Regions from separate parts of the Homo sapiens genome. Here regions 2 and 3 are each linked to region 1. Evidence: promoter capture Hi-C in human tissues and cell types (Jung and others, 2019). All regions are on one chromosome and are shown on one strand. Each heading gives the region's core, a stretch centred on a gene start or on the middle of the fragment in contact. The rest is flanking DNA. Distances are from core to core; before and after follow the strand shown. Region 1 holds the start of RNF24 (ring finger protein 24). Region 2 overlaps HSPA12B (heat shock protein family A (Hsp70) member 12B). Region 3 overlaps ATRN (attractin).

Evidence for each region. The method cuts DNA at HindIII sites, captures the fragments that hold promoters and counts their contacts. A contact is called where the count stands out against the background at its distance.
Region 2: a contact is called between a fragment that was not itself captured here and the fragment with the promoter of RNF24 in region 1, in 2 of the 25 tissues and cell types used here (lymphoblastoid cells and spleen).
Region 3: a fragment that was not itself captured here is called in contact with the fragment with the promoter of RNF24 in region 1 in 1 of the 25 tissues and cell types used here (mesenchymal stem cells).

The regions. Positions count from the first base shown.
Region 1 is chr20:4,014,280-4,017,263 of GRCh38, reverse strand. It overlaps RNF24 (ring finger protein 24), which reads left to right and starts at 1,706. Exons shown (of 6, transcript NM_001134337.3): 1 at 1,706-1,827. RefSeq lists enhancers at 1-580, 784-1,716 and a silencer at 1,600-2,199. The HindIII fragment of the contact is 8,027 bases long and covers 1-2,984 here.
Region 2 is chr20:3,736,480-3,739,647 of GRCh38, reverse strand. It overlaps HSPA12B (heat shock protein family A (Hsp70) member 12B), which reads right to left. Exons shown (of 13, transcript NM_052970.5): 2 at 931-990. The coding sequence starts at 973. Among named protein-coding and RNA genes, the nearest start is that of HSPA12B, 5.4 kb to the right of the region's middle. The HindIII fragment of the contact is 4,231 bases long and covers 1-3,168 here.
Region 3 is chr20:3,580,562-3,583,439 of GRCh38, reverse strand. It overlaps ATRN (attractin), which reads right to left. Exons shown (of 29, transcript NM_139321.3): 16 at 1,086-1,305. Among named protein-coding and RNA genes, the nearest start is that of GFRA4, 81 kb to the left of the region's middle. The HindIII fragment of the contact is 8,776 bases long and covers 1-2,878 here.

The DNA of each region.
Region 1 (2,984 bases), core at 457-2,956:
ACTTTGGGGGACTGTGACCATTGGGTGGCAGGTGACTTCTTGAGAAATTCACTAATGTTTCCCTCTTTACTTCCTCCCTGCCTTGGTGGTTAATGGTTTGCCAAAGCAGAAGGAACATGCCTCTAGGCGCTTGCCATGATGACTTTTGCTTCCCAAAGTTAAGCTACTGAGCTGTTTATGGTTTATGTGATGGGGCCTGAGAGATTAGGAGAAGGAAGGAGAACTTCTGGGGGACACATGGAGACTGAGGAAGAGGGGGCAATCATTTTTGCAAGCTCTGAGCTGCAGCGCACACACAGTCAGCTGTGGAGCTTCACAGCCATTCCCTCTGCAGGCTCCTAGCCTCTCCAGAAACTTCCGTACCCCAGGAGTGGCAGACACAAGGCGATGGGAACAAGAGAGTATCTGCAGAATACACTGCCTGCTAAAGACAAGAGAGGACTCCCCAGATCCTTGCCTTGGTATTGCAGGAAGAGCTCAGCCTCCCAAAATCGGAGGTCAATTTATTGCCTGCCCTGTAGAATGGGAGCCGGAGGTTGAGGAGTGGATGTAAATAAAGGAATGCACTGTTTCTTGCACACACCTCTCTCCACTATCTGGGCAGAGTCTAGGTCTCATCCATCACCAAGGTTCTAGCACTCAGCTGAGAGGCTGCAGCAGGAGGGGCAGATGGAGGAGGGTGCGGTGCATACCATCTCCCCATCAAACCAATGGGCACCACGTGACCATTCTTGTGTCTCTGGGGACTGTCAATCTGCATGCTAGGAAAGGGGTGGCATTCCAATCTTTCATTTTTTTGTGTGTGAGACGGAGTCTTGCTCTGTCACCCAGGCTGGAGTGCAATGGTGCGATCTTGGCTCACTGCAACCTCCGCTCCCCGGGTTCAAGAGATTTTCCTGCCTTAGCCTCCCGAGTAGCTGGGATTACAGGCATGAGCCACCACACCCAGCTAATTTTGTATTTTTAGTAGAGACAGAGTTTCTCTATGTTGGTCAGGCTGGTCTGGAACTCCTGACCTCAGGTGATCCACCCGCCTTGGCCTCCCAAAGTGTTGGGATTACAGGCGTGAGCCACTGCGCCCGGCCCCATGCTTTCACTTTTAAAAATGCTTGTAGGGCACGCAAAAATACTAAACGGTCGATGGAGAAGGTCTGTCTGGAGTAGTTGTTTTTTTTTTTTTTTTTTGAGACAGAGTCTCGCTCTGTCGCCCAGGCTGGTGTGCAGTGGCACGATCTCGGCTCACTGCAAGCTCCGCCTCCCAGGTTCAGGCGATTCTCCTGCCTCAGCCTCCCAAGTAGCTGGGACTACAGGCGCCCGCCACCACACCCGGCTAATTTAATTTTTTGTATTTTTAGTAGAGACGGGGTTTCATCGCGTTAGCCAAGATGGTCTCGATCTCCTGACCTCGTGATCTGCCCGCCTCAGCCTCCCAAAGTGCTGGGATTACAGGCGTGAGCCACCTCGCCCGGCCTGTCTGGCGTAGTTCTAACCAGGAACAGAGCCAGCGGCCAGGGCCGCACCAGGCCTGGCCAGGGAGCGCCGCGCCTGCGCACTGCAGACTCTGAAGCCGCCGAGCCCTCCGCCGAGGTGGGTGGGGAAACTGCCCGGGCATCCGGGTCCCTCACCCCGCCCCCGCTGCATGAATGAGAGGCGCGGCGCCCGCCCCTCCCCCGGCGGGCCCGCCCCTCGCGAGGGGCCGCCGGGCGCAGTCAGCCGCCGCCACCTCCGCCGCGCTCTGTCCGGACGGACGCTCGCCGCCCGCAGCCTGCCGCCCGCCGCAGGGCGCTGACGGTCCCGCACGTCTGCCGCTGCCACCGGCGCGCCCGAGTAAGTGAGCGAGCGAGGGCGGGAGCGCCGCGGCCGCCGCCCCCGGGCTGGGGTTTGGGGGACCGAGCCGCTCCGGGTTCGGGATGCTGAGGAGACCGCGGGCCCGCGCCAGCCTCCCACACACACACACTCTCCCGGCGCCTCGGCCGGCCGGGCGCGGTGTGCAGGGGTGAGGCGGTGTCTCCAGGCTGAGGAGGGACGCGGAGGAGGGTCCGGCGCGGCCCCGGGACTGGAGGGTGAGTCCCTCACAAAGGGCGGAGCGGGGCTGTCACCTGGAGATCACGGAGGGAAGGTGCGTGGGCCCCCGCACGTCCTGCTCGCCCAAGCCCTGGCATCGGGTCCCCGGGCGTGGGAGGCGGCTGGGATGAGCTGGGAGGCTAGGAGGAGGATGGCGAGGACGCTGCCCCCGCGTTGGCGGTGGGCGCGCGCCTTGGGGGGTGCGGCGTGGCAGTGTTTTCCTGGTCCCCGTCCACTCCTCCCCTTTCTTTGTGGCGCTTGTCTCGTGCCCCGTTGTCACAGTGTGCATGGCAGTGGTCGGGGTGGAGACCTCTTCCCTCGGCTTACTCATTAATGAAAGTCACCATCTGTGGGCAGGGGGCGTGTGTGGTTCCACAGGCCGGAGAATTAAGGACCCTCCTTTGTTTCTGGAGACCTAATGATGTGTGTGTGTGTGTGTGTGTGTGTGTGTGTGTGTGTGCGCATTCAAGTGAAAGGGACATCTATGAAATGAGAGAATCAGAGATTGTCAAAAAGGGTATGAGGAAAAGGGGAGGGGATATAACTTCATCACACCTTTACCCAATTCTTTACCTGATGTTATTTCAAACAGTTTTTTCTCACTGTAAAACCAGTGGGTTTTATTCATTGGAAATGTGCATCTAAATTCTCATATATCTGTGTTTCTAGAATACTTTGCCTTTTTGGGCTTAGTTAATGGTAAGATTCTCATGTCTGTCTACATAGGAATACTCCACCGTACAGGACACTGCTTTCTGGGTTTAGTTCATTGATAATTTGTCCGAATGCTCATAAACATGTCTATAGGAATACTCCAATATATCTAGGACACAGTTTTCTCCGCTCCTGAATACAGGCAGATTTTGTTTCTTTCTGCCTCCCTGTGTTAATGAGAAGGTAGTCCAGCAGGTTCTCTCTAC
Region 2 (3,168 bases), core at 3-2,502, 280 kb after region 1:
GGGCAGGGAAAAAGTGGCCACATTTCAAGGGCTCCCTCTCCTCAGGCAGCCAGGGCAGGCTCCAGCCCTGCCACCAGCTGCAGCCCGAGAGGCCAAGTTGCTGTGGCTCGAGCTTGGGAAGGGAGGCAGGAAGGAAGGGCCCAGCCCACCAGGTCTTTGTGAATGGACTTCCTGAGGAGTGTCCCTCTTGCCTCCGGCCTCCCACCCCTGCGGAGAACCCAAGCCTGCTCCCAGACCAGGCTATGGCCAGACGCACATGCACACGCAGAACTCTCTGCATGCGTGCCCACCTGCAGACTATACTCCCGTACACAGATCCTGTGCACAGAGACCTGCCCGCAGAGACACACACTCACTGATGCACTCACACGGGGTCCTGTGCACATGGCCTGAACAAAACACATGGACATTCAAACACTCCTGTGCACACAGACCCTCCATGCACACGCAGAACTCTCTGTATGCATGCCCACCTGCAGACTATACTCCCGTACACAGATCCCGTGCACAGAGACCTGCCCGCAGAGACACACACTCACTGACACACTCACACAGGGTCCTGTGGACAGAGCCTGAACAAAACACACGCACATGCATACACTCCTGTGTGCACAGACCCTTCTGGCACACACAAACACACGCACTCAGCCCACACTCATATACACATGAGGGTCCTGTGAATAGACCAGTCCTGTGTGCACACATACTCACATACACAGACCGGTGCACACAGACCCTTTCTGCACACACAGGGGGGTCCAGTAAACACAGACCTGCCCTGCACACATGCACACACACACACACACTCACTCACAGAAGAGCTGTTGGGAAGCTCTGTGGGAGAGGTACATTGCACAACCTGTAGGTGGGTCTCAGTGCCTGCTCGGGTGAGTGGGTGATGGGTCAGGGCAGAATGGTGGGGGTTCTTACCGATGTACAGCCCCTGCAGGCCCATCTCCGGGACAGCCAACATCCTTGCAGGCCCTGTAGCTGTCAACAGGAACAGACAAGCAGAGTGGGATTTATTTGTCCCTTTGTTCCCTCATCTGAATGCTTATTTATTTTATTTGTTTACTTTTGGCTGGAGTCCTTTGAAGCAAATCCCAGCCATCATGTTGTTTCACCCGTGAACTCTTTAATACATCTCTCCAACAGATAAAGACGTTTTAAACAATGTCATCGCAACACCATTCTCATGTCTAATGAAATTAACAGTAATTCCTTAAATCTCATCTAAAGTCCCACAGTTCCCAGCTTGTGTCAAAAAATGGCTTTACTTTCTTGGAATCAGGATCCTCCTAAATGTTTTCTGGTGCCTGCTCTGTGCCAGGTGCTGGGAGATAGTGACCCAGAGAGACACTGTCCCTGCCCTAGAAACCAACGGTCTGATGGAGGAGATAATCAGGCAAGTGATTTTGAAATGACAAGCGTTGCTGAGTGCTAGGAAGGTCAAAGTTGGATAATGCGGGGTGGGAAGAGGACATGGTAAGTCTGGACAGAGGGCTGGGCTGGGCTTACCCTGCAGGCAGGGCCTGTGCACCCTATTTCAGATTTGATTTTATATGAAGGGCAACAGCAAATCTTGAAAGGTTTGAGGTGGCAGGGTGGGGTGGGGGCATGACTCAATTTGTCTTTTCTTTTTTCTGAGACAGGGTCTCACTCTGTTGCCCAGGCTGGAATGCAGTGGCACGATCTTGGCTCACTGCAACCTCTGCCTCCCAGGTTCAAGCCATTCTCCTACCTCAGCCTCCTCAGTAGCTGGGATTACAGGTGAGTGCCTCCATGCCCAGCTAATTTTTGTATTTTTAGTAGAGACGGGGTTTCGCCGTGTTGGCCAGGCTGTTCTCGAACTCCTGACCTCAGGTGATCCGCCCACCTCGGCCTCTCAAAGTGCTGGGATTACAGGCATGAGCCACCGTGCCTGGCCTTCGTTGTTTGTTTGTTTTGAGATAGGGTGTCACTCTGTCACGAGGAGAACCTACATTTAAAGGCTGAACAGAGGAATATATACCGGCCCAGGAGACTGAGATGCCTCATGGTCTCATGAAGATTGTACCAAGAGATGGGTAAAGCTAGATCCCTGTAAAAGGTCCCCAGATGAGACTGGAAACACTGTTTTAGTGGCCCAAGGGAGGTAAGCTTAGGTGAGGAGTGAGCAAGAGGTGACATGAGCTAGAACTTCTTTTCTTAAGATGGAGTTTCACTCTGTTGCCCAGGCTGGAGTGTAGTGACGCAATCATATTGAGCTAGAATTTCTGAAAAGCTTGGCTGAAATCAGGAATACATGTGAGGGCAGTAGTTGGAGGGCGCTAAAGCTGAAGGGAGGTGAGGAAGAATATTTATTTTCTAAGATGGGAGGGGCTCGATCCTGTCTATGAAGTTCTGGGGCCAGGCTATAGGCAGGATATTTCAAACCATCAACAGCTTTGTTACTCAAAGTGTGGGCTGAGGATCAGCAGCATTGGTATCACCTGGAAGCTTGTTAGAAATGCAGAACCTCAGGCCCCAGCCCAGACCTGCTGAATCAGAACATGTATTTCATATTTATTTATTTATTTATTTATTTATTTATTTATTTATTTATTTATTTTTGAGGCAGAGTCTCACTCTGTCCCCCAGGCTGGAGTGCAGTGGCGTGATCTCAGTTCTCAGCTCACTGCAATCTCCATCTCCTGGGTTCAAGTGATTATCCTGCCTCAGCCTCCCAAGTAGCTGGGGCCACAGGCATGCGCCACCTAATTTGCCTAAAATGCCACCTAAAAATGCCTGGCTAATTTTTGTATTTTTAGTAGAGTCGGGGTTTCACCATATTGGCCAGGCTGGTCTCGAACTCCTGGCCTCAGGTGATCCGCCCGTCTCAGCCTCCCAAAGTGCTGGGATTACAGGCGTAAGCCACCGCGTCTGGCCTATTTTAACAAGATTCCCAGGTGATTCAGGTGCACATTGAAGTTTGAGAAGTGTTGCTCAACAGTGTCTCTCAGCCAGTCTGCAGACCACTGACACTATGTTCTCATTGGTGGGCCTGGCTGCTCCTCTAAACAAAGGAGGAGGCTACGCAGGGCCAATGCATTCCTTCTCTGTCACCAGCGGCCCAATCTGAAAGTTTTGCTATAGAACACAGGCAGACACAGAGCTGGCTCTGGCATGCCCATAGACACATGCACACAC
Region 3 (2,878 bases), core at 368-2,867, 430 kb after region 1:
GTACTGTTTAGTCAAGTGTATTTACACACTTGTGGAAAAAATAAATTTTCTTTTCAAAGAGCATTAAGGACAAAGATGAGGAAACAGTGAATCTTTCCATAAAAGTAGGGCTGTAAGCCCCTTAGAATTTGGGGACCCAGGATGAACTTTAGGGGTTTTACAATCCACTTGAATATGTAAAATCTCATGTTTGCAATTTTGGAGGGAAGAAGGTCTACGGCATTCATTAAGTTCAACAAAGGATTCAGAATTCTGAAAGGCTGCTGGGCAGCTCCCCTAGAGAAGTTTAGAAATCAATATTTAGAAATCTACAATGCTATGAATTCTCTCCTATACCTCTGTAATTCCTCAGACAAATTACTTTCCCAAAATTGGACACAATGCAAATGGAGTCCAGCCTCCCAAAATAATCCACAATTCCACCGACTGCTTGTGAGTCCCTCTGCAGGAGGAGGAGGCTTATTTTGAGTTGTCTTCATGCTGCAGCAGCTACCCCTGGGCCTGCCTTTAGTTAGCCAAAATGTAGCCCAGAGAGACTGAAAGCTGGGAAGCTACTCCGAGTGTCTGTCTGCTCAGTACTCTCCTGCAGCTCTCGCGTAGTTCTGGGTTGCTTCTGTCCTCGCTTACAGAACTGCTCTCATCATTTTTCTCCCTGTTGACACTACCTTTCTGAACACTGTCCCTGCAGTCACTTGCTTGCTTTACTAATCTTTTCTTTGTTTTTATTTTCCTTTTTTGTTTCTTCTTCCACAGCATTTCTCTGCCAACACCAATAAATTTGCTTTTCAGAGCAATTCTCAATACTTTTTCTGGTCAATAAACCTATCAATCTCATTGTTAATTAGAATATCAGTTTCTTCGAGTAGTGTTAGTTATTTTTAGTTTTGCTTATAATTAAAACTATTCAGGGTCCCAGAATATTTCCTTCTGCTTCTGAAATCTGGGTTATACTCTTCTTTGCATGCTTGAAATCAATACTTCATCTGTTTTCATGACTACTTCACACATCTCAGCAATGAACTATGCCTCCTATGGTTTCTCTCACAATAAACTCTGAATACCACCTAATTCACCTGTGAACTTACCAGGCCTTTCACAGACACTACCATTGAGTGGGTTGATGCAGGTTGCAGCCTTCAGTCCCCGAGTACTGGGTTCTGATAAAATTCCACAGAATCCAGCATCACTGGGCTCAGACGGCATCCACTGTAGTAAACTATTTGTAAATGGGGACATATCTTCCCAGCACCAGTAGGACACATTGATCTTCCGAAGGCCGACCCATGGGGTTAAGGTGAGCTTGGACTAAAGGCAAAAGAGACACAACTATGAATACAGATAGTATCTTTTTTTAATTTAAATTTTGGAGATGGAGTCTTGCCATGTTGCCCTGGCTAGTTTCAAACTCCTGAGCTCAAGTGATCCTCCCACCTTGGCCTCCCAAAATGTTGAGATTATAGGCATGAGCCACCATGCCTGGCCTGAATATAACCAACATCTTGACCAAAACAAGCTTCTAGATAAAAACCACCAAGTTAAGTATACCCCACAGACATAGGAAAACCTCTTTATCCCTTGACTCAGCCATGGTAGATTAGGATAGATCATCACTTCAATATGGCCATTTTATAAAGGATAAAAATGTAGCTCAGAGAAGATAATATATCAAAAATTCACAGAAATTATAGCAAAGCAATATTTAAGTTCTGAAATGTCTATATGAAGAGATGGCTACCCCCAAACACAGGCTGAGTATCCCTAATCTGAAATCCAAAACACTCCAAAATCTAAAACTTTTTGAGTGCCAACATGATGGATGCTGAAGGAAAATGTTCACTAGAGCATTTTGGATTTCCAGATTAGGGATGCTTAACTGGTTAGTATAATGCAAATATTCTAAAATTCGAAACACTCCTCGTCCAAAGCATTTTAGATAAGGGATATTCAACTTATACCACATTTGCTTTATCCATTCATCCATCCTGGCACTGGATTTTATAGGGAATAATAGGACAGTGACACCTGGGACAGTCTGTCTTCTGCTCTCCTGAAATTTCCTTCTCATTGCAATTTTTAACAAGTTTTAAAAATCAAAATATAAAGTTTAGCCAAGAAATGGTAAGTATTCCTAATTTTGGTAGTTATAAAACAAAAGATATACTGTATTTCCCTCCCTTTGCTTTCTTTTGAGACAGGGTCTCGCTCTGTTGCCCATGCTGGAGTGCAGGGACATGATCATGGCTCACTACAGCCTCAAACCCCTGGGCTCAAGCAACCCTCTTGCCTCAGCCTCCCAAGTAGCCGGAACTACAAGTATGTGCCACCATCATGCCCGGCTAATTCTTTAAAAAAACTTCCTTTGTAGAGACGAGGTCTCCCTGTGTTGCCCAGGCTAGTCTTGAACTCCTGGGCTCAAGCAATCCTCCCTCACTGGCCTCCCAAAATGCTGGGATTACAGGCAGGAGCCACCACACCCAGCCTATTTCCATTTTTGAGAGGAAAAAATACACATGCCTACTAAAAGACCTAAAAATAAACAGATCCAAAAGAAAGAAAGACAATTAAAAATACTTTTTAAAGGCCCTTCAATAATTTCTTTGCCTTCACGATACAATTCAAATCCATTACTATTGTAGCCATGGCCTCGCAGGGTCTGGCCTTGGTTCCTTCCTGAGGCTCAACTATAAAAATCCCCTCCCATCCAGCCTGCAGCCAACCATGCAAACTTACCTGCAGCTCACTCAAAGAGCCACTCCCTTAATCATCTCCCTCTACATCTCACAGATGGGGGCACTAATTAAATCACAGAAAGCCCTTCCGTCTTCGACATCCTAATTCACTCCTTCTCACCTGCAGGGGTCACCTCCTTCCAGCTTTC